6 separate regions of the Homo sapiens genome follow, and all the other regions are linked to region 1. The links are contacts of gene promoters, found by promoter capture Hi-C in human tissues and cell types (Jung and others, 2019). All regions are on one chromosome and are shown on one strand. Each heading gives the region's core, a stretch centred on a gene start or on the middle of the fragment in contact. The rest is flanking DNA. Distances are from core to core; before and after follow the strand shown. Region 1 holds the start of CHAC1 (ChaC glutathione specific gamma-glutamylcyclotransferase 1). Region 2 overlaps RTF1 (RTF1 homolog, Paf1/RNA polymerase II complex component). Region 3 holds the start of NDUFAF1 (NADH:ubiquinone oxidoreductase complex assembly factor 1). Region 4 holds the start of OIP5 (Opa interacting protein 5). Region 5 overlaps OIP5 (Opa interacting protein 5). Region 6 overlaps OIP5-AS1 (OIP5 antisense RNA 1).

Region 1 (3,632 bases), core at 780-3,279:
CTTGGGGATAGAAGGTGACCTCCTTGGTATCGTAGCCACCAAGCACTGCCTCTCGCACATTCAGGTACTTCAGGGCCTTGCTTACCTGCTCCCCTTGCACTTGGTATGCCACGCCCCAAGTGCAGCCCTGGGAAGAAATAGGGACACCCGGGGTCAGTCATGACAGCTCCTTGCTGCTCCCTCTCCTATCCTAACATGCCACCCCCACCCAGGACTGTGCTCTATAAGGGAGGCTGTGGTCGGCTGATGAGCCATCTGGTGGCAGTACCTCAAGCCCTTGTACTCTCTTTGTTAAGAACAGTTGAAAGGCCAGGCGTGGTGGCTCATGCTTGTAATCCCAACACTTTGAGAGGCCAAGGCAGGTGGATCACTTCAGGTCAGGTGTTCGAGACCGGCCTGGCCAAAATGGTGAAACCCCATCTCTACTAAAAATACAAAAATTAGCCAGGCATGGTGGCGTACGCCTGTAACCCAGCTACTCGGGAGGGTGAGGCAGTAGAATCGTTTGAACCCAGGAGGTGGAGGTTGCAGTGACTTCAGCCTGGGTGACAAGGGTAAGACTCCGTCTTAAAAAAAAAAAAAAAGGCATAGTTGAGGCCAGGTGCAGTAGCTCATGCCTGTAATCCCAGCATTTTGGGAGGCTGAGGGTGGGCAGATCACTTGAGATCAGGAGTTCCAGACCAGCCTGGCCAATATGGTGAAACTCCGTCTCTACTAAAAATACAAAAATTAGCTGAGTGTGGTAGCGCATGCCTGTAATCCCAGCTACTCGGGAGGCTGAGGTGGGAGAATCGCTTGAATCTGGAAGGCAGATGTTGCAGTGAGCCAAGATTGCATCACTGCACTCCAGCCTGGGCAACAGAGCAAGACTCTGTCTCAAAAACAAACAAACAAAACAACAACAACAACAACAAAAAAAAAAAACAGTTGACAAAGTGGTCTAGTACCAGGGAAGACAGGATTCCTCCTCAAAGTGTGGTCCAGGATGTGGTGGCATCACCTGTAAGCTAGTTAGGAATGCTGTGTCTCAGGACCCATTCTCATGCTACTGAACTAAAATCTGCATTCTAACAAGATCCTCATGTGATTTGGTGAGAAGCACTGAGCTAGAACACGTTTCTACTCTGCCAGAGAAGCATCAGACAGAGCTAGCCTGCAGCCAAGAGCCTATGAGCTCTCTCTGCTGGTCCCCCTTCACACTGGGCCAGGGTTCCCCTTCATGATTCGGGCACTTACCTCATGATCTTCAAGGAGCGTCACCACACGGCCAGGCTAGGGAGGGAAGAAATATTTTGAAATAGACAAGTTAGAAATCAGCTCTGCCATCAGCAAGGAAACCTTTATCAATCCCGCTGACCCGGGCCTCCAAGTGCCCCACTCTGCATGCTGAGTCCCATTCATGCAGGGGAAGGTGGGGGAGCGATGCACGGATGTAGGAGAAACGTCCAGAAACACTGACATGTCAGTGGTCCCAGTTGGTGATCAACACAGGGATCCACAGGTTCACAGACTCCAGCCATCACAGTGATGCACTGGGCACATACATTTAAATGAGCCACAAACCCCAGACACAGGTTTACACATTTCTTTCTATTGGCCCAGAGAGCCCCGGACATTCCAGGGCACTGGCGCCCAGTATCCCGCCCCCAACCCCCTCACTCCCCTGGGCACGGTTGGATGCTCACCATCTTGTCGCTGCCCCGATGGAAGGTGTCTCCCTGCCAGAAACGGCGGCTGTAGCCGCGCACGAAGCCCACACGGCTGTCGCTGTAGGCGAAGTCGGGCCTCCACACCAGGGAGCCGTACCCGAAAATCCACAGCGCTTGAGGGTCGCCGTCGTTTCGGGGGAACTGAGCGGACGGCGTAGGGGACTGCGAGGTGGGCGGGGTGTTCGGGGCTGCAGACTCCTGCTTCATGGTGCCTGGCACAGGGATAGGCCCAGGCGGCCTCCGGGGCTGGTCTCCGGCGTGGGCACGGAAAGACCGACGGACGCACACACCTGGCCTGGCACCGCTCGGTAGCTCCAGCTGAGCGCCCCCCATGGAGGCGCCCTTTAAACCTTCTTGCCGGGAGACCACGCCCACCGCGGCCAGCTGCCGCGGTGATTGGGGTGGGGCAAATCCCCTTTTGGCCAATCAACTTCGGATTCTGCTTCTCACTTAACCGCGCCGCGGGCCCAGCGCGCCCGCTGATTGGTTCAGCTCCACCTCTGTGGCAAACCTGGCAGGAGTGATGCAACGGCAGGGGAGGTTTCTCCAGCGCCGGCATGCAGCAAGGGCGCCTCGGATTGCGTCAGGCGGCGGGCAGGGGGCACCCGCCGGGCCCAGGGCGGGCACCGGGCGGGCGTCTCCCCAGCCGCCCCCTCATGACCTGGGCCCCTTGGAGGTACGGCGAGCGAGTCCCAGGCGGTGTCAGCCCAGCCTTGCCGCTAGTGCATCTGGCCGAGTCCCTGCCAGCCTAGGCGGCACAGACTCAGTCCCAAGTCGAGTCCAGGGCACGTCCAGAAGGAGCGCTCTGGGCGTCGTAAACTTCCGTCTCTGGGGCCCCTCCTGAGATCATGCACTGCGGGAAAGCTGTCGGAGGCACCGTCCGCATTCCGCTCAAGTGCCTCACGCCGTTGGCCATTGTGAGCAAATGGAGAAACTGGGCCACGGGGCTGCAGGGGGTTCTGCAGAGACTGCGGGGCTGAGTTAGGTAGGCCAGGCGCCCGGAGCTTGCAGGCCTCACATGGGCTACGCCCCGGACCAGGTGTGGGACCCCTCGAGCCCAGGTAGGCTCGGGGAAGAGCCTGTTAGAGCGCTTGGACCGACCGGCAGTCACTTTGGAGGTGGTGGCTGCACCTGCGGAGAAAGGCTATAAAGATGCAAAAGCCAGGCTAGTCTTGCCCCCAAGGCGATGGGTTTAATTCTTCCTGGACGTGAGATTTTGCAGCAATGATTAATCCATAGGCACAAGGTTCCGGGAGCAGCGGGCAAGGAGGGCCCAGTGAGGCCCCCACAAGACTATGGCCAGCTACTGGTCTTCTCCCTCGGCTTCTGGCCTCCCAGCCGAGTCCACAGGCCGCCGGGGGTTGACCCAATACGCAGCAAGGGACTGCCCTCAGGGGATGTCACTGACTGTAAAAGGGAAACAGAGGCAGCTGAAGGCCTTCTCTCTAAACTGGCCAGGAGATGGCTGGCAGGGGCAATGTGCAACATGGCTTCTCATTCGATTCTAATTCAATATTTAAACTAAACGTGATCTTCACACTTCACATATTCATTCCGAAGGTGTCGCAGATATAAGTGGGAAACTTGCACAACAGTGTGTATAGTACAAAGCTATTTCTTTAAAAACAAAAAGTATTCGTGTAATAAATAATCTGGAAGAATATACCTAAACAGTTAGCAGAGGCTGGCACCAGAGGAGGACTTTCAGTATCAAACTTAAACAGTAATGAAAAAGTCTGGATTTTTACAGGGAGCATGAATTACTTTTCCAATCAGGAAAAAAAAAAAATTACCAGCAAATGGTCCTTTCTGGTTATTCCTTTCTTTTTCGCTTTCTCTCCATTTCCCACATTCAGTCTCCCTCTTCTCTTCTATCCTGTCCCCTTTCGTTCATATGAGCACCTCCTTTGTTGGTAGCTTCTT
Region 2 (3,632 bases), core at 831-3,330, 480 kb before region 1:
GTGACAGTGCAAGACTCCATCTCAAAAAGAAAAAAAAAAAAAAAGACATTAGTACTGCCTTCCTGCTAAGGAGGTTCCACTCCATATCCCATCATCTACACTCTACAGTTCCATCATCCCTCAATTCTCTCATCTTTATACATCCCTTCTCCCATTCCCTGGCAACCAGAGACCTGTTTTCTGTCCCTATAGAACATCATATAGATGGAATCATATAGTATCTTAGCCTTTTGAGTTTGGCTTCTTTCATTCAGCACAGTGCATTTGAGATTCATTCACATTACAGCATGTATCATTACTATAGTTTGTCTCTATTTTTGCTAAGTAGTATTCCACTGTATGAATGTATCAGTTTGTTGAACCATTTACCAGCTGAAAAACATTTGTGCTAGGTGCAGTGGTTCACGCCTATAATCCCAGCACTTTGGGAAGCCAAGGTGGGAGGACCGCTTGAGCCCAAAAGTTTGAGACCAGCTTGGCAACATAGCATGACCTCATCTTTACTTAAAAAAAAAAAAAAAAAAGGCCAGGCGTGGTGGCTCACGCCTGTAATTCCAGCACTTTGGGGAGGCCAAGGTGGCGGATCACCTGAGGTTGGGAGTTCGAGACCAGCCTGACCAACATGGAGAAACCGCATCTCTACTAAAAATAAAAAATTAGCTGTGCGTGGTGGTGCATGCCTGTAATCCTAGCTACTCGGGAGGCTGAGGCAGAAGAATTGCTTGAACCTGGGAGGCAGAGGTTGCAGTGAACTGAAATAGCACCATTGCACTCCAGCCTGGGCAAAAAGAGCAAAACTCCATCAAAAAAAAAAAAAAAAAAAAAGTGTGGTAGCAAACAACAACAATAAAACATCTGAGTTGTTACCATTTGGGGGTAATTGTATGTTCATGTATAGTCTTCTATGTAAACATTAGTTTTTACTTCACTTTGAGTAAATACCTAGGACTGGGATTGCTGGGTTATATAGTAATACGTTTATGGTCTTTACCATTACCTTTTTTCCCATATTACTTTAATGTAAATTTATAAGCTTTAAAGACTTCTGGGCTGGGTGCAGTGGCTCACGTTTGTAATACCACTACTTTGGGAGGCTGAGGCAGGTATATCACTTGAGGTGTGCCTGGCCAACATGGTGAAACCTGATCTTTGCTAAAAATACAAAAATCAGCTGGGCATGGTGGCGCACGCCTGTAGTCCTAGCTGCTCAGGAGGCTGAGGTGGGAGAATCACTTGAGTCTGGGAGGTGGGGGTTGCGGTGAGCAAAGATCATGCCAGTGCACTCCAGCCTGGGCAACAGAGTGAGACTCTGTCTCAAAAAGGCAAAAAAGACTTCTGGTAAGTAATCTCTTCTCTGACCCCTTCAGTTTCACAAATGCATTATTATGCCAGTTTTATATTTTTATTTATTTATTTTTTTTGAGATGGACTCTCACTATGTCTCCCAGGCTGGAGTATAGTGGAGTGATCTCGGCTCACAGCAACCTCCGCCTCCCTGGTTCAAGTGATTCTCCTGCCTCAGCCTCCCAAGTAGCTGGGACTATAGGTGCACGCCACCACACCCAGCTAATAGTTTTGTATTTTTAGTAGAGACAGGTTTTCACCATGTTGGCCAGGATGGTCTCGAACTCCTGATGATCTGCCCACCTCAGCCTCCCAAAGTGTTGGGATTACAGGTGTGAGCCACCGCAGCCGACCTCAGTATGCCTGTTTGTTTTTCTTTTTTTTGTGAGACGGAGTTTCACTCTTGTTGCCCAAGCTGGAGTGCAATGGTGCGATCCCGGCTCACTACAACCTCGGCCTCCTGGTTCAAGCAATTCTCCTGCCTCAGCCTCCCAAGTAGCTGGGATTACAGGTGTGCACCACAACACCTGGCTAATTTTTTGTATTTTTAGTAGAAGTAGGGTTTCACCACATTAGCCAGGCTGGTCTTGAACTCCTGATCTCAGGTGAGCCGCCGCCTTGGCCTCCCAAAGTGCTGGGATTACAGGTGTGAGCCACCATGCCCAGCCTAGTATGCCTGTTTTAATACCAATTCGTTATAAGAGAAATTTGGATTTGCTATCAATCAAACCATAGTAGACATCTGTTAAAAGTTACTGTAACTGAAGTGTTAAGACATTAGTACTGCCTTCCTGTTAAGGAGGTTCCGCTCTACATACTGAAAACCTAGGCCGGGCGCAGTGGCTCACGCCTGTAATCCCAGCACTTTGGGAGGCTGAGGTGGGTGGATCACGAGGTCAGGAGATCAAGACCAACCTGGCTAACACAGTGAAACCCTGTCTCTACTAAAAATACAAAAAATTAGCCAGGCGTGGTGGCGAGCGCCTGTAGTCCCAGGTACTCCGGAGGCTGAGGTGGGAGAATGGCGTGAACCCGGGAGGCGGAACTTGCAGTGGGCCGAGATTGTGCCACTGCACTCCATCCAGACTGAGTGACAGAGCAAGACTCCATCTCAAAAAAAAAAAAAAAGAAAACCTAACAAACAGCTCTCCTTCATCAACAAACAACTGCATCTGATAAGTACAATCCCTCTTCTACTACATTAAATACCATATTAACAATAGTATGGCCAGGCACAGTGGCTCATGCCTGTAATCCCAGCATTTTGGAAGGCCGAGGTGGGCGGATCACAAGGTCAGGAGTTCAACACCATCCTGGCCAGCATGGTGAAACCACGTCTCTACTAAAAATACAAAAAATTAGCCAGGCATGGGGGCGTGCACCTGTAGTCTAGCTACTCGGGAGGCTGAGGCAGGAGAATCACTTCAACCTGGCAGGTGAAGGTTGCAGTGGGCCAAGATCGTGCCACTGCACTCTGGCCTGAGCAACAGAGGGAGACTGCGTCTCAAAAAAAAAAAAAAAGTATGAGCCAGGGACACTGGCTCACAACTGTAGTCCTAGCACTTTGGGAAGCCGACGAGGGCTGATCGTTTGAGCCCAGGAATTCGAGACCAGTCTGGGCAATGTGGTGAAACCCCGTCTGTACAAAAAATCCAAAAACTCAGCCAGGTGTGGTGGCACATGCCTATAGTCTCAGCTACTCAAGAGGCTGAGGCAGAATTGTTTTGAGTCTGGGTGGTTGAGAGTGCAGTGAACCACTTCACTCCAGCCTGGGAAATAGAGCAAGACACTGCCTTAAAAAGAAAAACCCAGTCGGGCGCGGTGGTTCACGCCTGTAATCCCAGCACTTTGGGAGGCCGAGGCAGGTGGATCACGAGGTCAGCAGTTCGAGACCAGTCTGACCAACATGGTGAAACCCTGTCTCCACTAAAAATACAAAAAAAGTAGCTGGGCGTGGTGGCAGGCGCCTGTAATCCCAGCTACTTGGGAGGCTGAGGCAGAAGAATTGCTTGAAACCAGAAGGCAGAGGTTGCAGTGAGCCGAGATTGCACCACTGCACTCTAGCCTGGGCAACAAGAGCAAAACTCCTTCTCAAAAAAAAAAAAAGAAAAAAGAAAAACCCGCTGGACGCAGTGGCTCACGACTGTAATCCCAGCACTTTGGGAGGCCAAGGTGGGCAGATCACGAGGTCAGGAGTTCAAGACCAGCCTGGCCAACATGATGAAACCCCGTCTCTACTAAAAATACAAAAAAATTAGCTGGGCATGGTGGCAGGCGCCTGTAATCCC
Region 3 (3,632 bases), core at 549-3,048, 450 kb before region 1:
GAGTGCAGTGGTGCGATCTCGGCTCACTGCAAGCTCCGTCTCCCGGGTTCACGCCATTCTCCTGCCTCAGTCTCCTGAGTAGCTGGGACTACAGGCGCCCGCCAGCACGCCCGGCCAATTTTTTTGTATTTTTAGTAGAGACGGGGTTTCACCGTGTTAGCCAGGATGGTCTCGATCTCCTGACCTTGTGATCCGCCCGCCTCGGCCTCCCAAAGTGCTGGGATTACAGGCGTGAACCACCGCGCCCGGCCGATAACTTATATTTGAAACTAGAAAAGAGGTAGAGGCAGGATGGGCCATGGAGAGACAGCCCGCATTAAAGGTTGTGGGAAGAGAATAGAAGAGTCAGTGATGGGGGCAGAAAGGTAAGGTTTGAGGGGGCAAGTGTAGAGTCTAGAGAAGCCAAGCCGAATTTGAGGAAGAGGAGGCGGCGCGGAAACTAGTGAAGGAGAAAACATGGAAAGGGCTAGTGTATTTAGTGAGCTCCTTCGGAACCTTAGAGAACAAAGGTGTTACGGAACTATATGCTCTCAAATTCACACTAAGCACTAAATTCCCGCCGCTATGGTACATTCTGGGGAAAGGAAAAACAGCGCAGTCTGGACCCAAGAAAGCTCACAGCGTGGCAAAGGAAGTGAGAAGTGAGTGAAAGATACAATGTTGATTCTGTCTTCCCTGGCAGTAAGAAAAAAAAACAAAAACAAACAATGTTTAAGTGCTTTGGCCGGGCATGGTGGCTCACGCCTGTAATACCAGCACTTTGGGAGGCCGAGGTGGGTGGATCATGAGGTCAGGATTTCGAGACCAGCCTGGCCAACATGGCGAAACCCCATCTCTACTAAAAATACAAAAATTATCCGGGTGTGGTGGCACACACCTGTAATCCCAGCTACTTGGGAGGCTGAGGCAGGAGAATTGCTCCAACCCAGGAGTCGGAGGTTGCAGATCGCGCCACTGCACTACAGCCTGGGCAACAGAGTGAGACTCCGTCTCAAAAAAAAAAAGTGCTTTAAGAGAGGTGTGCACAAGGTACAAACAGATGCCCTGAGCAACTGGCGACCGTGTGGGGCGAGACTCGGGAAGGGCTGGTAGGAGGGGCTGCTGTCCAGGTGCGTGGTGGTCCTCAAGAATTCATGGGGGCAATTCCAGCAGAATCGGCCTTTTGAGGCCTCAGGCAGTTCTTGTGGGGACCGAGGCGACAGATAAGGAAGGAAGGGATACAGGCGCGTTAGCAATAACTGGGTTCTATTTGAAAGACGCAGGGGGCCGGGCTTGGTGGCTCGCGCCTGTAATCTCAGCACTTTGGGAGGCCGAGGCGGGTGGATCACGAGGTCAGGAGATCGAGATCATCCCGGCTAACATGGTGAAACCCCGTCTCTACTAAAAATACAAAAATTAGTCGGGCATGATGGCGCGCACCTGTAATCCCAGCTACTCGGGAGGCTGAGGCAGGAGAATCGCTTGAATCTGGGAGGCAGAGGTTGTAGTGAGCCGAGATCGCGCCACTGCACTCCAGCCTGGGCGACAGAGCGAGAATCCGTCTCAAAAAAAAAAAAAAAAAAAAAGACGCAGGGATGGAGTTTGCCGCCTGAAAGGATACAGGAAGGAGAGGCGAAAAACTTATCTGAATTCTCACTGCTTCCTTACAACTGGCGACCAAGTGGACCAAAAACCTCCAAAAACCTCAGTTGGCTGGGCTACGGGGTCCTTGCTGTCCTTCCTGGGCTTCTGTACTCGGCCGGAACTTTGGTGTTCTGACGCCTTGTTTGGCATCGGAAGGGAAAAGCAGATGGACCTATACGGGTAAAGTGGCTTCTGGGCGGAAGGTACACTATAGGCTCGGGGAGGTAAGCGGCGGCAGGCCGGCGGTTGGTGTGTCCCGGGTGTGGGGAGGCGACAGAGCCCTGGCACTTGAGGGTTGAGGGGGCCTCCCCAGCGCGGCGAACCGTCTAGCCTCCGGAGGCCAGGCCGTGAGTGCGGGAGGTATACGCCAAGGCGGAAGAATTTTGCCACTCACTACCTGTGTGACCTCGGGTAAATTAGCCTTGGAACGTCAGTTTCTTCGTCTCTATAATTGAAATAATAATAGTACCTCTCTCAGGATTGTTGTGAGCCGTCAGTGAAACACTTAGAGCAGTTTCTGGCACATGGTAAGGCATGGATAGCTTTACTAATTCTACTCACTTCTAGCTGCGTGGATTGTGTTGTCAAAACCCACCGTCAACCTCAGGGCGGTATTGTCCAGTTAATAGTTTAGATTTTCTGTTTACTGGTAGAAAAAAAAAAATGAAACAAAGCATTTATAATTAAAGTTATATTATTAGAGAAGTAACACTACGGAGGGTTTGGAAAACATTTTATGAGCTATCATTTGTTTCTCAAATTTCGGTATGTGTAGAGGTAAAATCATTTAAGTGCAACCGGCGCGGGGGAATTTAAATATTATCCATAATTCCGGGACCTCAGATCAACTGTTAATTTTTCCTGGTTCCCTTAACGTTTATAATACATGTGAAAACATACTGTTTACATGGTTTTGATTTATCAACAAACCTTATTGATAATGTCGGCTGGGCGCGGTGGCTCACGCCTGTAATCCCAGCACTTTGGGAGGCCGAGGCGGGCGGATCACTTGAGGTCAGGAGTTCGAGACCAGCCTGGCCAACATGGTGAAACCCTGTCTCTACTAAAAATACAAAAATTAGCTGGGCGTGGTGGCGCACGCCTGTAATCCCAGTGACTGAGGCAAGAGAATTGCTTGAAACCAGGAGGTGGAGGTTACAATGAGCCGAGATCGCACAACTGCACTCCAACTTGGGGGACAGAGCTGGACTCTGTCTTAAAAAAAAAAAAAAAAAAGTTGGGCATGGTGGCGGGCACCTGTAATTTCAGCCACTCGGGAGGCAGAGGCAGGAGAAGCACTTGAACCCGGGAGGCGGAGGTTGCAGTGAGCCAGGGTCGTGCCATTGCACTCCAGCCTGGGTGACAGAGCGAGACTCCATCTCAAAAAAAAAAAAAAAAAAAAAGGTTGGGCGCCGTGGCTGACGCCTGTAATCCCAGTACTTTAGGAGGCCCATGTAGGCGGATCACCTGAGGTCAGGAGTTCGAGACCACTCTGGCCAACATAGTGGAACCTCATCTCTACTGAAAAAACAAAAACAAAAACAAAAATTAGCCGGGCATGGTGGCGCCCGCCTGTAATCCCAGCTATTCAGGAGGCTGAGACAAGAGAATCGCTTGAACCCAGGAGGCGGAGATTGCAGTGAGCGGAGATCTCTAGCCTGGTGACAGAGCAAGACTCCGTCTCAAAAAAAAAAAAAAGTATTGATAATGTCATTTTACCTATTGGTGTCTGTATCCTACAGAAAGGAAATACGTATCTGACTTGTTTCATAGGATTTGTGTGTGGATGGCATGAGATAATATATATCAGGGTGATATGAAAGTGTTAGGAGTAGGCTGGGCATGGTGGCTCACACCTGTAATCACAGTACTTTGGGAGAACAAGGCAGGTGGATCACGTGGTCAGGAGATCGAGACCATCCTGGCTAACACGGTGAAACCCTGTCTCTATTAAAAATCCAAAAAAAAAAAAAAAAAAAAAATAGCTGGGCATGGTGGCGGGCGCCTGT
Region 4 (3,632 bases), core at 357-2,856, 380 kb before region 1:
CGGTGAGCCGAGATGGCGCCACTGCACTCCAGCCTGGGCGACAGAGCAAGACTCCGTCTCAAAGAAAAAACAAACAAACAAACAAATAAAAAAAAAATTGTGACGATTGATTTAAGCATTTACTCACTGTCAGTATCACAGCCTGCAGGAGAAACCTCCAGAGTATATAGCAGTATTATGTGGGAAGTCTCAACTATTAACAAAATATATAAAACCGCTATCCTACATTAAATCCCCAAATCTTCTTCTAACATCTTGGGTTTTTTGTTTGTTTTTGTTTTGTTTGAGACTGAGTCTCTCTCTGTCACCGAAGTTGGAGTGCAGTGGTGCGATCTTGGCTCACTGCCACCTCGGCTTCCCAGGTTCAAGCGATTCTTCTGCCTCAGCCTCCCAAGTAGCTGGGATCACAGGCAAAAAGCTTGGATCACAGGCGTGTGCCACCACGCCCGGCTAATTTTTTAAGGGCCAGGCTGGTCTCGAACTCCTGACCTCAGGTGATCCGCCTGCCTCGACCTCCCAAAGTGCTGGGATTACAGGCGTGAGCCACAGCGCCGGGCCAACTCTCCAAACATCTTGTAGCCTCGGAGTCAAAGACCTTACTGGTTTTGATAGAGACCATCAACCCAACAGTCATCAATAAAAATTTACCCAAGGAGGTGCTCCCCTAAAAGTCGATTTTTTTTTTCTGACAGGTCCATCAATAAAGTATCAAGAGATTATCGGCAATATTACAAATCACTGGAGTCTGTTTGGGGTTTTCCAGAAGCTGAGCCAATTATTTACTTAATTGTCTAACGATTAACGACACCCCTTGTGCTTTCTGGGCCTGAGTTTCGTAATCGACGCCCTGAGAGGTATACAGTAATTTCAAAACAAAACAAAACAAAAAACAATAAACCATCCCTCGGAATAGAGCTTATCATGTGAGCACCCAGACAAGCCAGCTTCAAAATGAGGTGAAAACTACAGTTCCTCTTCCGTTTATCAGAGTTCTAACTGGGACTACCGTGAACCACATCTACTGCCCGAGGGGCAGGGAGAGCTGCCTCAGTCCCGGGCTTCCCTCTCGGTCCCTTCGCACCGCATCTCCCCGAGGCCGCTATTCCCGCCGCGCCCGCCCAGGGACCCGCACCGCCAGCGCCGTACCCTCAGGTTGGCCCGGAGACCCAGACTCTTGGCTAAGTTCTGCAGGTCACTGTACTTGAGGGAGTCCAGCTCCTCTAGAGAGGGGATGATCATCGCGATTCGAAATCCCGGCGATACTCGGAAGATGGATCACCAAACTTCGTCAGCGCGGTTCAAATCCCTGGCGCCACTCTTAACTTTGACTAGGCAGAAATTTATAGACAGTTTAAATGAAGAATGCCGCGCTTCCATTGGTTGAAAATGCCTCAAAGGCGGGGTTTCTAACCCTGACCAATAGAAAGGCTGATTTCCCGTCCCAACAGAGGCGCGCTTTTTTCACACTTCACGAATACGCAGGCGCCAAAGGGCCTGTAACGCCTGTTCAGGTAACGAGTGCGCGGACTCGGACTCCAGTGCTTGGATTGCCCATGATGTCCAATGAGGACGCAGGAGCTGTGCTTGGGGCGGGGCCTGGCGTGTATTCGAAAGGAAGGCGCCGGCTGCGGGAAGATGGCGGCTCAGCCGCTGCGGCATCGCTCACGTTGTGCAACGCCGCCCCGGGGGGACTTTTGTGGTGGCACTGAGAGGGCGATTGACCAAGCTTCTTTTACGACCTCCATGGAGTGGGATACGCAGGTGGTGAAGGGGTCCTCGCCGCTCGGCCCCGCAGGGCTGGGGGCTGAGGAGCCAGCCGCCGGCCCGCAGCTGCCGTCTTGGCTGCAGCCTGAGAGGTGCGCTGTGTTCCAGTGCGCACAGTGTCACGCAGTGCTCGCCGACTCGGTGCACCTCGCCTGGGACCTGTCGCGGTCCCTCGGGGCCGTGGTCTTCTCCAGTGAGTGCAGTGAAGCGTTCGGGAAAGGCAGAGGCTAGCCCGAGAGGGTGTTCCCGCTTTCTCCACCGGGTGGCGGAGAACCACCTGGGGAAGAAAACGGGATGAAAAGTTGGAAGCAAATAACTCCTTGGCCTGGGGATGGGGCAGGGAATCGGGGAGTCTCCTGATATTTACGGCCAGGATGAGTCTGTCTAGAGGAGAGATTTTCCATTTCAAGGCCCGCAGAGTATGGGTTCTGACCCGTGTTTGTCTTCCTAGGAGTTACAAATAACGTCGTTTTGGAAGCGCCCTTCCTAGTTGGCATTGAAGGTTCACTCAAAGGCAGGTACGTATTGATAATTACATTGGTCTCTAGTCCCTGACTTTATGAGACTGAGGATCGTGGAACTGACATGTACGAGGAGAAAACAGTTTGGGATGCTGCTTTTACCTGTTTGACTCTTATATGAACTTGATGTATTAATGAAATGAAAAAGTTGTATTTGTGTATTGGTTTTAGGATCTTCCTGAGGGCCACTTCTCCCAGGTGGCTTGTACAAGTGAAGTGAGGCTAAGAAAGATGTATCTAGTAGTGGACAAAAGAAAAAAATAACCTTTTGGTTTACAGTGAGAATAACATACTATAAACTACAATCCTTTTAGATATTAGAACTTTTTGATACAGGGTCTTGCTCTCGCCCAGGCTGGAGTGCACTGGTGCGCTCATAGCTCACTACAGCCCCTACCTTCCTGGCTCAAGCTATCCTCCCAACCTCACCCTCCGGAGTAGCTGGGACTACAGGCACACAGCACCACTCCCGGCTAATTTTTAAATTTTTTGTAGAGGCCTTAGTATGTTGCCCACGCTTGATATTAGAACTTTTAAGTTTGCGATTATGGTTAGTTTGTAATAAGCTATGCCAGGGCTAATTCTTCAGTAACCCCAGAAACTGGAGAAAAACACAACTAGAATGTTATGTACTTGAATACTGCCTGGTAAACTTTGCGACCTGCCTGTACTATGATTTACAAGTGACAATAAAGTAGTCAGTGAATTTGGTATTGCAAGGCTCCTCAATTTTGAGTTTTGGCTTTAACATTGAGACAATTCATTTCATTCTGACCAGTTTGATTCAACGTTACGGTTAAAATATAGGAATTCTTAGTTGCTTTGTCCAGTAACCAGGAAGATTTCTGCAGCTTGGACAAACTTCAAAAACGGAGTTAGACCCACAGCTCCCTTTCTTTTTCCTGAATAAAAGACACTCCCTATCGCTATAGGAGTCCCCTTCCCACCCAAAGGGGACAAAGCAAGAAGGAGCAATTGCCTGCTTGGAATTGGGTGTATTCTGGGGCCAGAGGCAGAAGGTTCCTGAATGTGCTCTTGGAGAGGAGGCTAATGAATCTAGACCCGTGCTGTCCTATACTGTAATCACTAGTCATATGTAGCTATTATATATTATTAAATCTGCATTGAGATATGCTGTGAACACAGAATACACACTGGATTTCAAAGACTTAGTACAGAAAAATTAATCATTTACAAATACTGATTACGGGCCGGGCGTGGTGGCTCACACCTGTAATCACAGCACTTTGGGAGGCCGAGGCGGGCGGATCACAAGGTCAGGAAATCGAGACCATCCTGACTAACACGGTGAAACCGTGTCTCTACTAAAAATACAAAAAATTAGCC
Region 5 (3,632 bases), core at 452-2,951, 350 kb before region 1:
TATTTCTCTTCCTAGCTGAAAGAGAAGATAGTGCTAACGCACAATCGCTTAAAATCACTAATGAAGATTCTGAGTGAAGTGACTCCTGACCAGTCCAAGCCAGAAAACTGATCCTGTACCAAAGCTTGAGTGTCAGGTTCAGGCTTTATTGCTGTCTTCAACAACAGGTGCTGCTTAGTCATTTCTTGAAAAAGATTGGCTTCAAGAATGGAGGGGAAATGCAGTTTCTATTTACCTTTAGGCTGATTTTCCAAATTATTTGTGAAGCTGTTTTTAGAAGATGAGAGACTAAGGATTCTTCTCTTTTATAGCTATTTGCCTTAAGAACTTACTTTAGATTCTTATTGAATTCATAATACTTATCTCTGAAAATGTCTTTGACTGTAAATTTAGGAATTAAGATGCAGAGTCCCATGTGTCCTCTGATCTAAAGTTGCATGGTTGGTCTGAAAATAGAGTTGGGCTTAATGTTGACTTCTATTACTCCTGCATGGAGCAGTTGTTATGAATACTAATACATCACTTTTTAACTTCTGTAAAATACAGATCATAATATTCTATAGGTAATGTTTAATAAATTGCCTGAATAATATACAATTTGTCTTTTTCAGTTGTAAACTGAGGTTAACAGAGAAATAATGAAAGCAATGATAAAACGAAACAGTTACCAAAGTACTATTTTCTATAATTTTGTTTTATGTAGCACTTTGAGTAACTTATCAAAATATTAATTTAATATATATTTGTAAAGTGTTAGACTAGGTGCTGGGGATAAAAGGTAAGCAAAAATAGACACACTATCCTTAGAATTTATAATCTAGTCAGAGAGGGACATTCAAATAATCACATAAAGATACATAAAATTACAGGCCTGGCGCAGTGGCTCACATCTATAATTCCAGATTTTCGGAGGCCGAGGCAGTGGATCACTTGAGGTCAGGAGTTCAAGACCAGCCTCGCCAACGTGGTGAAACCTCGTCTCTACTAAAAATACAAAAATTAGCCAGGCATGGTGGTGCGCACCTGTAATCCCAGCTACTCAGGAACCTGAGGCAGAAGAATTGCTTGAACCCAGCAGGTAGAGGCTGCAGTCAGCCGAGATCGTGCCACTGCACTCCAGCCTGGGCGACAGAGTGAAACTCCATCTAAAAAAAAAAAAAGATATGTAAAATTATGACGCTAGTAAGGGTTTTGAAGTAAAGGAACATAGGGATACACGCACATAAAGCAGGTAACTGACCTGGTCTGGGTTTCTGGGAAAGAAAGCCTCTGTGTAGAAGTGAAGTTTCAGCGGTGGTCTGAAAGACGAATAGGAATTAATAAGGTGATGGAGGGATGACCTTTATGAGGTCCTTAAAAGAAGGCCTGCCTAATCAAATTTACTTTTTCAGAATGTCACTGTGGTTGTCCTGTGGAAAACAGGTGGGAAGGACAGCAAGCAGACCACTAAGGAGAGCCTTTGGCACTAGCACAATCAAGAAATTACATATCCAAGTGGTGGAGGATAGAAAAGCTAACTTGGCTGGGATGTAGCTAGCAGAATATATATATATAAATTTTTTTTTTTTCTTCCCGAGATGGAGTCTTGCTCTGTCGCCCAGGCTGGCGTGCAGTGGCCTGATCTCTGCAACTGCCATCTCCCGAGTGTTGAAGCGATTCTCCTGTCTCAGCCTCCTGAGTAGCTGGGATTACAGGTGCATGCCGCCACGCCCGGCTAATTTTTTGTATTTTAGTAGAGACGGGGTTTCACCGTGTTGCCCAGGGTGGTCTCGAACTCCTGAGCTCAGGCAAATCCACCCACCTTGGCCTCCCAAACTGCTAGGATAACAGGCGTGAGCCACTGCGACTGGCCTGCTTATGCTTTTTTTGAGGGGAGGGTGGTGAGACAGGGTCTCACTCTGTCACCCAGGCCTGAGTGCAGAGGTGTGAACATGGCCCACTGCAGCCTTGACTTCCTGGTCTCAAGTGATCCTCCCAACTGTATCCTGAATAGCTGGCACCACAGGTTTGTGTCACCACGCCTGGCTAATTAAAAAAAAAAAAAAAATTGTAGAGACAAGGCCTCACTGTGGGCTCAAACTGGGCTCAAGGGATCCTCACTTCAGCCTTCTGAAGTGTTGGAATTACAGCGGTGAGCCATTGTGCCAGGTCTGATTATGCGTAGAGTTGCAAAAATTTGGTCCTATAAGCAAGGTTGATGCTTTCTGGCAAAAACCAGCCCAATAAAAGCTTTTACTTTTTAAAGAATAAGACCTAATATAGGCCAGGTGCAGTGGCTCACGCCTGTAATCCCAGCACTTTGGGAGGCCAAGGCGGTCAGATCACGAGGTCAGGAGTTCCAGACCAGCCTGCCCAACATAGTGAAACCCTGTCTCTACTAAAAATACAAAAATTAGCTGAGCATGTGGCGTGTGTCTGTAGTCCCACTACTCGGGAGGCTGAGGCAGGAGAATCGCTTGAACCTGGGAGGCAGAGGTTGTGGGGAGCCAAGATCATGCCACTGCATGCCAGCCTGGGTGACAGAGTGAGACGCCGTCTCAAAAAAAAAAAAAAAAGACCTAATAAGTACCACATTGAGTCACCCCTGGTTGCTCTGGGCGACAGAGCAAGACTCCGTCTCTAAATAAATAAATAAATAAAATTAAATGCTTGACCTTTACGTCAAATTAAACTGGCTAGCTTTAAATAGATTTTTTTCAGATTACATGCTCACTCTAGAAAAAAGAGATGTGTGACAAAATACAGAGTGAAAGTATACTTCTTCCCTTTCTATTTTTTGAGAAGCACAATATAGCATCCTGGTAAGTGAGCAGGCTCTGGAACCAAACTGGATTGAAACTGTGGCTTGGGTACTTACTAGCCATGAACTGGAACAATTTATCTGTTTTAATTTCCTTCTATGTAAAATAGGGATAAAAACTATAGTAATTAGAGCTGTAGTGAGCATTAAATGAGTTAATTAATGCATCTAATGTAATTAGAGCAGTGCTTATCACATAGTTGGTGCTCAATGAATACTATTATTAAACTCCATGTATGTGGATACACAGAGACACAAAATAAAGGCAATTACAAATATGTTAGAAAAAGTATTCCAAAACTCCTTATGGCTGTAAAAGCAGCATTACATATTGAGGTTTGAATGGCTGCCTGTTCCATTGTACAACACACTGGAAACTGCTACAGCTAGGTCTCAAGTAACCTGGTCCTTTGTTCTTTAACATCTGAAGAGTACTTTGGCACAGGTCTTTGGAAAGGCTCCTTCTCCCATCATCAGTATGTACTGCATTATTTAAAATTACCCATTTCAAGTAACGACACACAATGAGATTTCAGTGCATTCTCAGCCCATGCTGCTTTATTGCTAAAATATATATATACACAGGTGCAGAGCTTCCAACTTTTTTAACAGTTCCTTTTTACATCAAAGAATTAAATTTCTTCAAAAACCCCAAAGATGCATAGATTAAGAAGCAAGCTGCCTTTTGTAATACTTAAAATAATATTCAATGAAACTCTTAACGTTATACACCAATGGTGCAATGGAGAATATGGAGGACAGCAAGTAAACACAGTGAGCAACTCTTATTCTTACAAGGCAGTAGGTAAAGTATAATGTGAAGGACAGTCTA
Region 6 (3,632 bases), core at 669-3,168, 330 kb before region 1:
CCACCGGGCCAGGCCTATTTTTTAATCATTTGATTTCCTTCAATCTAATTAAATATGTGTCTGTTTTCTTTAGACAGTGAAAATTATTGGTAGTTTGAGCAAATGATCAAGATTACTCCTTTTTATTTAATACATTTCTTTTGTTGAAAAATAAAAGATTTAACTTAAATTTCAATAGCTTACAGTCATTTTTCATGTTCGTCTTCTGCTGAAGCTAACGGCTTATTGTTCCACTTCTATGTACCTGTTTTCAAGCTACTTAAACAGTATTTGGAACGATTAGCCCACAATTACTTACTTGCCAAGTCCTGAGTTCAGAATTTTGTTTTTGAGATGAATATAAAAGCACCTAAAGGTCAAGGAAAATTTTCTTCCTGTGATAAGGAACCTAAAAAGAAAAAGAACATTAAGGATATGGCCCTCACTGGTGCTAGTAATTTTAGTATACAATATTACTCAAACAGACAAGCTATTGTTAAAAAAAAATCAATATCATAAACTATTCAAAAGGAACAGTAAGAAAGCAGTTACTCTCTACCTGCACTGGCATTAATTTTAAAAAGATGTCAAGTCTTGGAGCAGTGGTTCTCAAGCTTTTATGAAACAGTGTCCTCTTTGAGAATCTGATACTATGGACCTTCTTCTTCCCACAAAAATGTATAATTGTGCATAAAATTTCCAGTAGTTTATGGACCCCTACTTAAGACCTTTGTGTCAGGCCTCTGAGCCCAAGCCTGCACGTATATATCCAGATGGTCTGAAGCAACAGAAGAATCACAAAAGAAGTGAAAATGGCCAGTTCCTGCCTTGACTGATGACATTACCTTGTGAAATTCCATCTCCTGGCTCAGAAGCACCCCCACTGAGCACCTTGTGACCCCCACCCCTGCCCGCAAGAACACAACCCCCTTTGACTGTAATTTTCCACTACCTACCCAAATCCTATAAAACTGCCCACCCCTAACTCCCTTTGCTGACTCCTTTTTGGACTCAGCCCGCCTGCACCCAGGTGAAATAAATAGCTTTATTACTCACACAAAGCCTGTTTGGTGGTCTCTTCGCACGGACGCGCCTAACACTTTGCTTTAGTGTAGATGACCACTCCCCTCTATAAGGTAGGGAGGAAGAATGTTCGGTTAGTTCCTCTCCTCTGGCCGATATTTTTTTTCTTCTCCTGGATGAGACAAAGACAAAAAAACAAAAAATAAACTGACAGAGCGACAAAAAAGGTCTCATATAAAAGTCCTTCTGTATTATTTTTCAGCTCTAGCAAATCCAGGGCCAACAAAGAGCATACCCAAAAACATTCATTTGTCTAATGGTGTGTCCGTTGGAACTTAACTAATGTGCCAGTTTTAAACAGGCCACACCAATTCAGAAACCTAGTAACAGGAACTTTCCTAGAATCTTACCTGAGAGACCGGATGAGGGTAAGGTTACAACAATCCAAATTACCAAAAGAGACAACCCGTTCGGTTAAAGGAGAACAGAATACCAAATGCCTCAGTGTTGACACTGTGCAACCCCACCACTTTACACAAACTACGTTCTAATAACATTTCCCTATCATTCTGTCTCTATAAAAACAATATTGTACACTGAACTCCTGTACTTCTGGGTCGGAAACCAAAAACGGTGAATTCTATCAAGACCCTGGCATCAGCCAAAATTAATGCGCCATTAGAACGTTATCAGGACATCAGTGCCAGAACCGCTTACTCAGATCATAAAAGTTTGGGAGGTGGGAGTGGGAGCGGACGGCTTTAGTAAAAGTTGCACCAGGGTGTCCGCGATAAACACACCCGAATGCAATTCCCAAGGGAAACCTGTTACAAGTCTCAAGGTCAACGGGCTGGGGACACAAAATACTCAGAGCCACAACAGGCCTCAACTGATACCGCTGACGGGCAAAGAGGGGGAACGAAGTCCTAAGGCGAGGGGTATAAGTAAATCAATAAAACAAAGATATTCTTCGAAAAATAAATCGATGGCAGAAGCAGCGGCTGCCAGATACAGCCCCGTGTGGGTGCAAGCAGAAAGCACAAAGGTGGCTAAAGGCACGGCACTGGGAAGGACCGAGACGGGCTGAGGGGTGGGCCGTGCAACACACCCAGAAGGCGGGTGACGGCTGCCCTGGAGCCGCCGAGGTTGGAACCCCCGCCCAGCCGAGGCCGAGGCCGGCTGCCCGCAACTCGCAGGTTCCTGCGCGCTTCCGTACCCGGCCCGTCTGGGCCACGCCACCTCCTCGGCGCCTGCTCGTCCCACCGTCACTGGCCTTCTCGGCTCACCTCGCACGGTCCAACAGATGCACTCGGCCTCCCGGGGGCTGCTCGCCCCCGGCCCAGAGGCCAGTTTGCAGCGGCACGCCTTACTCCGCCATCTTCGCAGCTTCTCAAGGTGGCCAACCCTGCGGTGGGCCGTTCCCACAAGCCCCGCCCCCGCCGCTGGGGCTGAGTGTTTATTGGGCATCGTCTTGCTCGCGCGCGCTCTCCTTGCGTCGTAGGTTGGTTGGAATGCACGTCAATCAATAGCACTCGCCCCACTCTTTCGATCCGGATTGGGTCCCAGAATTGAGGTAACAGGGAGAAATGCTTTTGTAATTCAATTATTAAGAATGTAAAATTTCCGCCGTAGAAGCTGTACCACGTGGTAAGATAGTGTGGCTAGGCCGCGTGACTATTTTAAGCCACTGTTAGGTTAAACTGTAGTACTAATAATTTCATTCTCAGGCCCGAGGGTTTTTGTTTTGTTTTGTTTTTTGAGACAGAGTCTCTCACTGTCGCCCAAGCTGGAGTGCAGTGGCGCGATCTTGACTCACTGCAACCTCCGCCTCCCGGGTTTAAACGATTCTCCTGCCTCAGCCCCTCAAGTAGCTGGGACTACAGGCGCATGCCACCACACCCAGCTAATTTTTGTATTTTTAGTAGAGACGAGATTTCACTACGTTGGCCAGACTGGTGTCGAACTCCTGACCTCAGGTGATCCACCCGCCTCGGTCTCCCGAAGTGCTGGGATTACAGGCATGAGCCACCGCGCCCAGGCTTTTAATCCAGGGGTAGCACAACACCTAGGGAAAAAATTTAATGCTTCCAGTTTGTCTCTGTCTTTGACTCTTAAAGGGCCCAAACGTTGTCCGGCTGTTTACAGCTTTGGTCAATACAGGAGAGAAGGATTCGTCACTTTTCTGAAGGCCCTCCTGCATAGAGGAAACCTGCTGTAACTGGCAGTTTTGTTGTTTGCTACACCCAACTGTAGGGCATCCTTTCTTCTGCATCATTTCCCAGAGGGGCAGGTGTCAGGCCTCTGAGCCCAAGCTAAGCCATCATATCCCCTGTGACCTGCACGTATACATCCAGATGGCCTGAAGCAACTGAAGATCCACAAAGAAGTGAAAATAGCCTTAACTGATGACATTCACCATTGTGATTTGTTTCTGCCCCACCCTAACTGATCAATGTACTTTGTAATCTCCCCACCCTTAAGAAGGTTCTTTGTAATTCTCCCCACCCTTGAGAATGTACTTTGTGAGATCCACCCCCTGCCCACAAAACATTGCTCCTAACTCCACCGCCTATCCCAAAACCTGTAAGAACTAATGATAATCCACCACCCTTTGCTGAACTCTCTTTTCC

Evidence for each region. The method cuts DNA at HindIII sites, captures the fragments that hold promoters and counts their contacts. A contact is called where the count stands out against the background at its distance.
Region 2: a fragment that was not itself captured here is called in contact with the fragment with the promoter of CHAC1 in region 1 in 1 of the 25 tissues and cell types used here (spleen).
Region 3: the fragment with the promoter of NDUFAF1 here is called in contact with the fragment with the promoter of CHAC1 in region 1 in 1 of the 25 tissues and cell types used here (liver).
Region 4: a contact is called between the fragment with the promoter of OIP5 here and the fragment with the promoter of CHAC1 in region 1, in 1 of the 25 tissues and cell types used here (spleen).
Region 5: a contact is called between a fragment that was not itself captured here and the fragment with the promoter of CHAC1 in region 1, in 2 of the 25 tissues and cell types used here (dorsolateral prefrontal cortex and spleen).
Region 6: a fragment that was not itself captured here is called in contact with the fragment with the promoter of CHAC1 in region 1 in 1 of the 25 tissues and cell types used here (mesendoderm cells).

The regions. Positions count from the first base shown.
Region 1 is chr15:40,951,868-40,955,499 of GRCh38, reverse strand. CHAC1 (ChaC glutathione specific gamma-glutamylcyclotransferase 1) reads right to left here and starts at 2,029. Exons shown (of 3, transcript NM_024111.6): 1 at 1,686-2,029; 2 at 1,237-1,272; 3 at 1-127. The coding sequence starts at 1,916. RefSeq lists a silencer at 2,296-2,555 and an enhancer at 2,227-2,820. The HindIII fragment of the contact is 19,989 bases long and covers 1-3,632 here.
Region 2 is chr15:41,431,037-41,434,668 of GRCh38, reverse strand. The region is part of intron 1 of RTF1 (RTF1 homolog, Paf1/RNA polymerase II complex component); the gene reads right to left. Among named protein-coding and RNA genes, the nearest start is that of RTF1, 16 kb to the right of the region's middle. RefSeq lists an enhancer at 2,394-2,894. The HindIII fragment of the contact is 6,359 bases long and covers 1-3,632 here.
Region 3 is chr15:41,400,662-41,404,293 of GRCh38, reverse strand. NDUFAF1 (NADH:ubiquinone oxidoreductase complex assembly factor 1) reads left to right here and starts at 1,798. Exons shown (of 5, transcript NM_016013.4): 1 at 1,798-2,150. The HindIII fragment of the contact is 27,298 bases long and covers 1-3,632 here.
Region 4 is chr15:41,330,565-41,334,196 of GRCh38, reverse strand. It overlaps OIP5 (Opa interacting protein 5), which reads left to right and starts at 1,606. Exons shown (of 5, transcript NM_007280.2): 1 at 1,606-1,957; 2 at 2,216-2,282. The coding sequence starts at 1,636. It overlaps NUSAP1 (nucleolar and spindle associated protein 1), which reads right to left and starts at 1,316. Exons shown (of 11, transcript NM_016359.5): 1 at 1,147-1,316. The coding sequence starts at 1,239. RefSeq lists an enhancer at 1,593-1,852. The HindIII fragment of the contact is 6,722 bases long and covers 1-3,632 here.
Region 5 is chr15:41,306,233-41,309,864 of GRCh38, reverse strand. OIP5 (Opa interacting protein 5) reads left to right here. Exons shown (of 5, transcript NM_007280.2): 5 at 16-592. The coding sequence ends at 111. It overlaps OIP5-AS1 (OIP5 antisense RNA 1), which reads right to left. Exons shown (of 5, transcript NR_152821.1): 3 at 1,241-1,298; 4 at 1,024-1,145. Among named protein-coding and RNA genes, the nearest start is that of OIP5, 25 kb to the left of the region's middle. The HindIII fragment of the contact is 3,593 bases long and covers 1-3,497 here.
Region 6 is chr15:41,282,767-41,286,398 of GRCh38, reverse strand. It overlaps OIP5-AS1 (OIP5 antisense RNA 1), which reads right to left. Exons shown (of 5, transcript NR_152821.1): 2 at 299-388. Among named protein-coding and RNA genes, the nearest start is that of OIP5-AS1, 1.9 kb to the right of the region's middle. RefSeq lists enhancers at 549-1,288, 2,773-3,514. The HindIII fragment of the contact is 7,739 bases long and covers 1-3,632 here.